Linked DNA regions of Homo sapiens: region 1 is linked to region 2. The links are contacts of gene promoters, found by promoter capture Hi-C in blood cells and fetal thymus (Javierre and others, 2016). All regions are on one chromosome and are shown on one strand. The core of a region is centred on a gene start or on the middle of the fragment in contact, and the rest is flanking DNA. Distances in the headings are between cores, read along the strand shown. Region 1 overlaps VPS26A (VPS26 retromer complex component A). Region 2 holds the start of SRGN (serglycin).

Region 1 (4,880 bases), core at 2,124-4,623, 72 kb after region 2:
AAGTTTCAGTGTACATTTTTAAAGTATCAGAATTGGAATGGGTAGATATTTATATATCTGTTCTGACTGAGAGTGTACTTACATGTCTATTCTGACTGAGAGGCAAGTTGTAGTAATTGATAGTTGGTTTTAGTCTTTTTGTGTTTTGTAATTTTATGAAGGTAATATATTTGCCTAACTAAAGCAAAATAGAATTTTTGCCTTGTCTAGGGGAAGTTCAAATAATTGCTGGTAATGTGTCAAATGGCTTCATATTGGGAGAGCCCCAACTACATCAAAGGAATGAACTCATTTTTAAAGAAATTTTCATTGTGCTATGCCACTTGAAATCTTTTATGCCTACATGAAGTATAATTATAAAAAGGATAATGGAATTCAGAGCATAGGTCTAGTTTATTAGAGACAAACTCAATAATTCTTTTGGTAAAAATCGTTTGTGTTTGAAGTAGATGTCTGGGTTTTATTGAAATGGCTATTAAATAATTGGTCTTTTTGCCTTTTAAAATTTCTCAGAACTTTTCAATGACAAGAGTAATACTCATGAATTTGTAAACCTAGTGAAAGAACTAGCCTTACCTGGAGAACTGACTCAGAGCAGAAGTTATGATTTTGAATTTATGCAAGTTGAAAAGCCATATGAATCTTACATCGGTGCCAATGTCCGCTTGAGGTATGAATGTGTATTATAAACTGTAAACAGAATCAAAACCAGAAAGTAATGACTACTGTTGATATCTTATTTGAACCTCTAATTATAATTCTGTATTGGAAGATTTAAGATTTTTAAAAATTCTGTCACATACTTTGGCTAATGCTGATTTGAGGTAATAGAGCGTTCTAACATTATAGAGTTAGACAACATTGTTATGAGACATTTCAGTTATACACTTCCCTGGTATGAATTGTCCCTTACGTACTTCATTTGTCATGTAAACTGAATGACCTTCTAAATCCACTAGTTTCCCAGAAAATCTCCTTTAGTATATGGTTCAGAAGTAATCTGGAGTACCAGAGAGGCTCTGATACATCTAAAATGACACAAATAGTGGATGGCAGAAAAGGAGTACGAACCTAGTTTTCTAAACTCTCAATTCAGTGTCCTTTCCCTTCACTAAGTCTGTATGCAGGAAGCCAGGGATGCCTCAGAGTCCAGGGCATTTCAGGATATTAATCTGAATGCATCAGGTCCGAGATCTTGCTTTCTCTGTTTAACTTGGCATTATCTATCTGGAACTGGGTTTGACAACCCAAATTTCAAATAGCAGTTCCTTAAAGAAGTGATCTGGAGAGGTTTCTTCAAGTAGGCTTGATGACAGCCCTCCAAACTCATCTGTAAAGTATTTACACTATTCTTAAAATTGAACTTTGTATTTTTTTTCATGTTGGGGGCATTAAAGAAAATTGGAACTCCTTCGTGAAGTAATGAAGTAAGTTGATCCCAAAGGAGTTCCAGCAAGGAGGAGAAGCCTGAGTTGCAGTTAATGTTTGCTGATTTAAAACATGAAAATTTATCACAGGTGATTTAACTCATCGACTCTCTTTTAACTTTGTAGGTATTTTCTTAAAGTGACAATAGTGAGAAGACTGACAGATTTGGTAAAAGAGTATGATCTTATTGTTCACCAGCTTGCCACCTATCCTGATGTTAACAACTCTATTAAGATGGAAGTGGGCATTGAAGATTGTCTACATATAGAATTTGAATATAATAAATCAAAGTAAGTATCATTCACAGATAAGTTGTTCAGAGAAAATTCAAAAATTAACTTTTCAGGTGTTTGTCAGTTGGTCAAAGTAAGGATAGAATTGACATTAATCTGATGTTAACAAATCAACAGGATCTCTGAGCTAAAAGAAATTTTAGGAGTTTGGTCTGGTTTCCACTCAGTAAAGGTGTCTTTTATGTTCTATTCCTGATAAATCTCTGCTTGGCCACTTTGTGTAGAGGATGTCACCATCTCAGAAGGCAGCCAGTCCTTCTGAGGATACAATTTATCTTACTGGCTTGATATTACCTCATCCTAGCCATCTCTTTTCACATATTTTCACCTTTACCACTTAATCACTGTTAATGTCTCCTTGTATATCATTTCTTGGGGGGAGGGGGAAGGTATATATGTTTATATATGTTGTATTTTTACAAAACTGGCTCATATTTTGCTTGTGTTTAATGCCTTTTTAAATTTTATTATGGGAAATTTCAAGCATATACTAAAATATTTGAACAGTATACTGAATAATATAATGAATCCTCATGTACCCATTGCCCAGCTCCAACAGTTATCAACACACAATCCAGTTTATCTGTATTCAGCTCTCATACTCCCCATAGGTTATATTGAAGCAAATTCCAGACATTTAATTTAACCCATAAAATTATGTATCATTTTATCAATTAAATTATATATGTGGAATTTGCTTCGATACAATCTGTGGGAAGCTGTATCAATATCATTTTATACATGGACTAAGATGTTCTCAGAAACATTACTTACATGAACAAAAGATTGCCATTTAAATGCCCACTGGTATTATAACAGTTAAATAAATTATGGTCCAGCCATACTGTGGAATGCTAAAGAAGGGTTAAAAAGATTGAGGCCGGGTGCGGTGGCTCACACCTGTAATCCCAGCACTTTGGGAGGCCAAGGTGGGCAGAGTTTGATCACCTGAGGTCAGGAGTTTGAGACCAGCATGGTCAACATGGAGAAACTCCGTCTCCACTGAAAATACAAAAATTAGATGGGTGTGGCGGTGCATGCCTGTAATCCCAGCTACTTGGGAGGCTGAGGGAGGAGAATTGCTTGAACCTGGGAGGTAAAGGTTGCAGTGTGCTGAGATCACGCCACTGCAGTCCAGCCTGGGTGACAGAGGGAGACTCCATCTCAAAAAAAAAAACAAAAAAAAAAGATTGAGACATATGTATTTAGTTCTCCAGAAGCGTGTCCATGATATATTAAGTGAAAAATTTAGCCATAAAAACAGCATGCATAGTACTGTTTCATTTCTGTAAAATACTCATGTATTTGGATATGAATAGAAAAGAGTCTGCAATGATATTCTGTTGTTAACAGTGGTTATCTGTAAAGGATGAAATTATGTATTGACTTTACATATCTCTTATTTAAATGTTATATGACAAGCTTGTTTTCTGTGTCTATTCAGAAAAAAGTTTTAAAAAGTTATATATCATTCTAAATATAACTACAATACTCTTATATCTAAAAATATTAGTAATTCCTTAATATCTTCATACACCCAGACAGTATTCACATTTCCCTAATTGGCTCACAGATATCTTTCTTTTTTCACATACTTTGTTCAAATCAATATTTAAACTAGGGCCACACATTGCATTTGGTTGTTTGAGCCTTAAATTTTTTAATTTATAGGTTTCCCTTCTATTTTTTTTATTAAAGTTTGTTTGTTGAAGAAATGGATGTGCCCTGTATTATCCCTTTCATACCCCAGTCTTTTGTTACATTATTTTTATTGGTTGTCACTCCCAGGTTTATATCACTGAATATGTAATACATATGGACTTCAGAATCTTAAAATTATATTGTTGATGAAATTATCAAATAGTTTAGGACCTGAAACCACTGAAGCTTCCCTTCAGACTGACATAATTTTTACACACACACACACACACACACACACACACACACACACACAGTTTTTTGTTTGTTTGAGTCTCACTTTGTCGCCCAGGCTGGAGTGCAATGGCGTGATCTCGGCTCACTGCAACCTCTGCCTCCTGGGTTCAAGGGATTCTCCTGCCTCAGCCTCCTGAGTAGCTGGGATTACAGGTGCCTGCCACTATGCCTGGCTAATTTTTGTATTTTTAGTGGAGACGGGGTTTCACCATGTTGGTCAGGCTGGTCTCAAACTCCTGACCTCATGATCCACCCGCCTTGGCCTCCCAAAGTGCTGGGATTATAGGCATGAGCCACCGCGCCCAACATATTTTTTTTTTTTTGGAGTCGGAATCTCTGTCGTCCCGTCTGGAGTGCAGTGGCATGATCTCGGCTCACTGCAACCTCTACCTCCTGAGTTCAAGCAATTCTCCTGCCTCAGCCTCCTGAGTAGCTGGGATGACAGGCATGTGCCACCACGCCCGGCTAATTTTTGTAGTTTTAGTAGAGATGGGGTTTCACCATGTTGGCTAGGCTGGTCTTGAACTCCTGACCTCAGGTGATCTGCCCGCCTTGGTCTCCCAAAGTGCTGGGATTACAGGCGTGCCCGGCCTGACATAATTTATATTAACCAACTCTTGAGATACAATTTTGAGAGCCAAACCTGGGAGGATGCTAAAAAGTCCTCTGGATATTATAGGGATTCCTAAGTTTATTACCACATCATTACAAGGTACGTGGGAGCGACCTTTGGTTATTAGCTATCACAACAGCAGACTCAACCTATGTAGGTAGGTTTCTTTTACTTTGTCTTTGTGGGCAGATGATTTATGTTAGCTGCACTCTTGTAGAACTTGAGTAATAATGACACTAAACTCTTGTGTCTTTTAATGTTGAAAATATCTTCATACACCAAATATTTCAAGTATTTTTTGTGTGTGTTTGTTTTGAGAAAGAGTCTGGCTCTGTCACCCAGGCTGGAGTGCAGTGGCACAATCATGAGTCACTGCAGCCTCAATCTCCCAGGCTCAAATTATCATCTCACCTCAGCCTCCTGAGTAGCTAGGATCACAGGCATGTGCCACTAATTTTGCACCACCCAGCTAATTTTTAGAAGAGATTACATCCCCCTATGTTGCCTAGGCTGGTCTTAGACTCCTGGGTTCAAGCAATCCTGTCGCCTTGGGCCTCCCAAAGTACTGGGATTATAGGTGTGAGCCACTGAGCCCAGCCAGAACAGTTAAC
Region 2 (4,800 bases), core at 1,236-3,735:
TGAATACTGCACCTGTGCTTTAAAAGTCACCATGAGCTGGGCGTTGTGGCTTACGTCTGTAATCCCAGCACTTTGGGAGGCCGAGACAGGTGGATCACTTGAGGTCAGGAGTTCGAGGGCAGCTTGGCCAACATGACAAAAACCCCATCTGTACTAAAAAAAAGAAAAGAAAAGAAAAGAAAAGAAAGAAAGAAAAAAAATTAGTCAAATGCGTTTGCTTGAACCCAGGAGGTGGAGGTACACCCTGGGCGACAGAGAGAGAGAGGTAAAAAACAACAACAACACCATGACCCAGAGAAAGAAAGAAAAAAAATGAAGTTCCCAAATGGAAAAAGCCCCTAAAATTACCATTTTAAAACACAGCCCTAATCAGCTCTGGGGATTTGCAGGAAACTCATCGAAGCTATTGATAGGAACTATTGTTTTGGTGCCAGGGTTTTCAATTGGGAGTTAGATTTAAAAGGACCAAAGATGACATCTGATATTTCAAACAGAAACCGACATTTCTCAGTGGAAAACTTTCCGGGCCAGTGCATTTTGGGGTTGGTTACTGTGCTTGGAGACGCCCCTGAGTTGGAGGACACACTTCTGGCTGATGTGAGGGGCTTCTGAGGAGGGCCAAAATGTACACTCTTTGTGTTCTTGCACCACGGCTATTAGACTGTGAGACTCTGTCCTTAGCAGGAAATGGTAAAGGAATCAGCAGGAAGCCTAAAACAAGGGAAGGGAAACTCCTCCCTCCTATCAAAGGCCAGGCAAGGGCGAGGATGAGAATGGAAAGTGGGGCACGTGCATTAAGCCGTCTGGGGGAGCGGTAGGGATAGACATGTTGAAATGGAGAGTGGTTGAATCTTGAAAGGAAGTAAGGAAAATGTATATGCCACAAGGGCAAGGATGTATGATAGGCTTGTATTTATTGTATAACTTTATTTTATTTTATTTTATTATTTTTAGTTTTTTGAAATAGAGTCTCTCTCTGTCACCCAGGCTGGAGTGCAATGGCACGATCTTGGCTCACTGCAACCTCTGCCTCCCGGGTTCAAGCGATTCTCCTACCCCAGCCTCCCGAGTAGCTGGGACTACAGGCACTCGCCACCACGCCCGGCTAATTTTTTGTATTTTTAGTGGAGACGGGGTTTCACGGTGTTAGCCAGGATGGTCTCGATCTCCTGACCTTGTGATCCACCCACCTCAGCCTCCCAAAGTGCTGGGATTACAGGTGTGGACCACAGCACCTGGCCTTTATTGTATAACTTTAATATGGAGCCTTAGTCCTCCAGAAATCTGCACCATGCCCAGGGAAAATGCTGTTCCTTTATTTACATGAGGCAGAGGTTTGTGTTGTTTGCTGAGGTCCAGCAGCTCACTGTGAGGACAACCTCTCCCTCGTTCCTGATTTCTGGCTTATTCAAGGCCAGAGGACCCAAAACTCGAGTTGAAAATTTTGACTAGGAGAACAGATAAAAATAGAAATGGAATCCATCTTAAGAAATGCTCAATGTGAAGGAGAGGGGAATGCAAAATAGTTTTTCTGTTTTACCACAGTCTTTGTAACTGAAAATCCTATGTTCTTGAGATAGAGAGAGAGCCAATGATCCAATGCAAGAAACTGAGTTTAAGAAGAAACTGTTTGCTGGGCACGGTGGCTCACGCCTGTAATCCCAGCACTTTGGGAGGCTGAGGCAGGCGGATGGCCTGAGGTTGGGAGTTTGAGGCCAGCCTGGCCAACATGGTGACACGTCGTCTCTACTAAAAATACAAAATTAGTCCAGCGCAGTGGTGTACGCCTGTAATCCCAGCTACTCAGGAGGCTGAGGCAGGAGAATTGCTTGAACCCTGGAGATGGAGGTTGCAGTGAGCTGAGATCGCGCCACTGCTCTCCAGCCTGGGTGACAGAGTGAGACTCCATCTCAAAAAAAAAAAAAAAAAAAAAAAAAAGAAGAAAAAGAAGAAGAAGAAACTGTTCATCTGAAATCCGACAACTCATTCTTGAAGGTTAGAGCTCAGCTTTGAAGTTTCACTTCACGAGCTTGGCTCAGTGAGGTATGTTACTCCCCGGTGAAAAAGAAAATGAAGAGAATGTTTTATGTTGAAAGTGCTTGGTGACGAAAAGGCAGCACCTAGATCCCTTATCTCATAAAAAATGCAGCAGATTCTTAATATTAGCAATCTAGTGTTTAGATTGTTACCTGAAGAAAGGAAAAACAAACTGTCCCAAATGCTGATTCTACTGTTTCGGTGGGAAAAAAAAATGTCTTGCAGGCAAGTGGCAAACAACAAAACTTTTGAAAAAGCAGGCCTGGGGGGAGTCCAGTACAGTTTCATAATGGGTATGAATAGTTATTTTACTGTGTTCCCCCCACCCCCTTTCTTTCTGGGTTTTGATGTGGATGTCTTTCTATTTGTTCAGGAAATTGTGACGTGTGTTCTGGGCAGGGTTTGAGGTTTTGGAACATTTTCTAAAAGGGACAGAGAGCACCCTGCTACATTTCCTAATCAAGAAGTTGGCGTGCAGCTGGGAGAGCTAGACTAAGTTGGTCATGATGCAGAAGCTACTCAAATGCAGTCGGCTTGTCCTGGCTCTTGCCCTCATCCTGGTTCTGGAATCCTCAGTTCAAGGTAAGACTCAGGAGTCTTGTTCCCCAGCCATCTTCTCTGTAAGCCCTGTGGTCCATGCAAGTCATTATATTCATTTTAAGGCATAGAATGTATAATATTGTGAGAAAGGAGGCAAAGAAGAAGGATTTGGGGTCGCTGAACCCTTTAATATGAGTTCTGTTAAGTTTGGTACCAAGAAAAATTAAACTCTGTGGCGTGTGCAGTCTTGTAAACTCTTACAATGATTGAAATGTGCTATTTTGGGATGAAAATGTGAGGTTTATAAATTTTAAAAGCTCAAAAAAGGAATCTAGAAAATGACTCCTGTGCCTGTTGCATGGAGGAGATGGCACCTTTGACTGTTGGGGGGTGTCTGCCTACCCCTAAGTGTCTACATCAGCCCCAAGTTTTAGTGCGCTGTGACGGTGTCATTGTTATTTTAACACTGGGAGACGTTATATTCCAATTGGGGTGAATCTGACTGTGTGTATTTTCTTTTCTTTTTTTTTTTTTTAAAGATAAACTTGGTTCTTACTGAAAACTCAATTATGGTTAGACATAGTTCATGTAAAACCTCTCAGATTTTAAAGAGAAGGCCAAATAATTTGGTATTTGTGCTCTTGCTCAGAGAAGCATCATATTCGGAAATATCTTCCTAGGTTTATCTACCATTTAGTGTTGTTTAGTCAGACTGAAACAACTTAAAACCTGTAATGACTAAGACAATGAAAATGATAGGCTTGTAAGAAAAATACAATTTGTTATTCTTTGGCAAATAAGGAATCATGTCTAAATAAGACGGAGGTCATGGCTTGATAGAGAGATGGCTGAACCTATAGTAGAAAAACACTAGGTTCCGCCAAATGGTAAGGGAAATGTTGAGTCACAATGACACACATGTCCTAGATTTGTTTCGTCAAAGCGACTTTTGGTTGTCATGATCTTACTTCCGGTGGAGATGAAATCTTACAGATGATCGCAGAGACATTCATTTTATGTTGGAAATTTATAAAATCATTTTCTTCTAGTTATGCTAATGCTGAAAAAAGAGCAAGTAATGTTTCTGGAACGTTATTAATTTATGTATTTTTAAAATATAAAACATTGTCAATTGTAGGGAACAGGCTTCACTGGGATCTTTTAGGGAATATCTTCAGCTTGATGAAATAATTCCCGAATAGCCAAGTGGTCTGACAAGATCGAGAGTAATGAGGCCCATACTTTAGTACAGTCTTGAATGGCCAGATGGTGCTGGGCATACCCCAACCAGAGATATGTAAGTCTTTATGTTGTCAAAATTTCCCAGAAACATGAATTTCCCACTAAGATTCATTAAGGAAAACTAGAATGAAAACAAAAACGTTCCTTGTATAATATTCATTAGAAAGAAATGAAGAAGGCCGGGCATGGTGGCTCACGCCTGTAATCCCAGCACTTTGAGAGGCCAAGGTAGGCAGATCATGAGGTCAGGAGTTTGAGACCAGCCTGGCCAACATAGTGAAATCCCGTCTCTACCAAAAATACAAAAAAATTAGCCGGGCATGGTGGCACACACCTGTCATCCCAGCTACTCAGGAGGCTGAGGCAGGAGAATTGCTTGAACCTGGGAGGTGGAGGTTGCAGTGAGCTGAGATTGCACCACTGTACTACAGCCTAGGTGACAGTGCAAGACTCTGTCAGAAAGAAAGAAAGAGAGAGAGAGAGAAAGAAAGGAAAGAAAGAAAGAGAAGGAAAGAAAATAATTCATCATGAAATTGTATAGAATACTAGCATTTATGTCATGACCTCGTAGGTTTAGCTCTTTGTTAGAAAAGGAAACCATAGAAAGAGACAAGGGAGAAACTGACAAACTAGGGTGTTTCCGAAAAAAGGCTCTCAGTATCGGGCTCAAGGGCTTGTGCCCACATCTGAGCATGCAGGGAAATAGATGTCCCCCACTGGCTGCACATGTGAGTGACTGCGGCACAAGGCTGTGATGTGAAGAGTCGTGACACCATTTCCTCACACCTCCACGCAATGCCAGATATGATTCGACAACATTCTTCCTGTCTTATAAAAAGTGTTTATCTAGCCCGTTGGTTTGGCAGATGAAATCAACTAGGCTTTTGGCTTGCTTTTACTGAGCATATTCAAAACCATTTCAGGTCACTATAGTGGTTTGCTCGGGTTGCCATAACAAAGTACCACGGACTGAGTGGCTTA

Evidence for each region. The method cuts DNA at HindIII sites, captures the fragments that hold promoters and counts their contacts. A CHiCAGO score of 5 or more calls a contact.
Region 1: a fragment that was not itself captured here is called in contact with the fragment with the promoter of SRGN in region 2 in 1 of 17 cell types (monocytes); the score reaches 5.1 in monocytes.

The regions. Positions count from the first base shown.
Region 1 is chr10:69,156,494-69,161,373 of GRCh38, forward strand. It overlaps VPS26A (VPS26 retromer complex component A), which reads left to right. Exons shown (of 9, transcript NM_004896.5): 4 at 514-670; 5 at 1,554-1,718. Among named protein-coding and RNA genes, the nearest start is that of SUPV3L1, 21 kb to the right of the region's middle. The HindIII fragment of the contact is 465 bases long and covers 3,142-3,606 here.
Region 2 is chr10:69,085,618-69,090,417 of GRCh38, forward strand. It overlaps SRGN (serglycin), which reads left to right and starts at 2,486. Exons shown (of 3, transcript NM_002727.4): 1 at 2,486-2,619. The coding sequence starts at 2,541. RefSeq lists enhancers at 800-969, 2,617-3,816 and a silencer at 4,515-4,694. The HindIII fragment of the contact is 21,371 bases long and covers 1-4,800 here.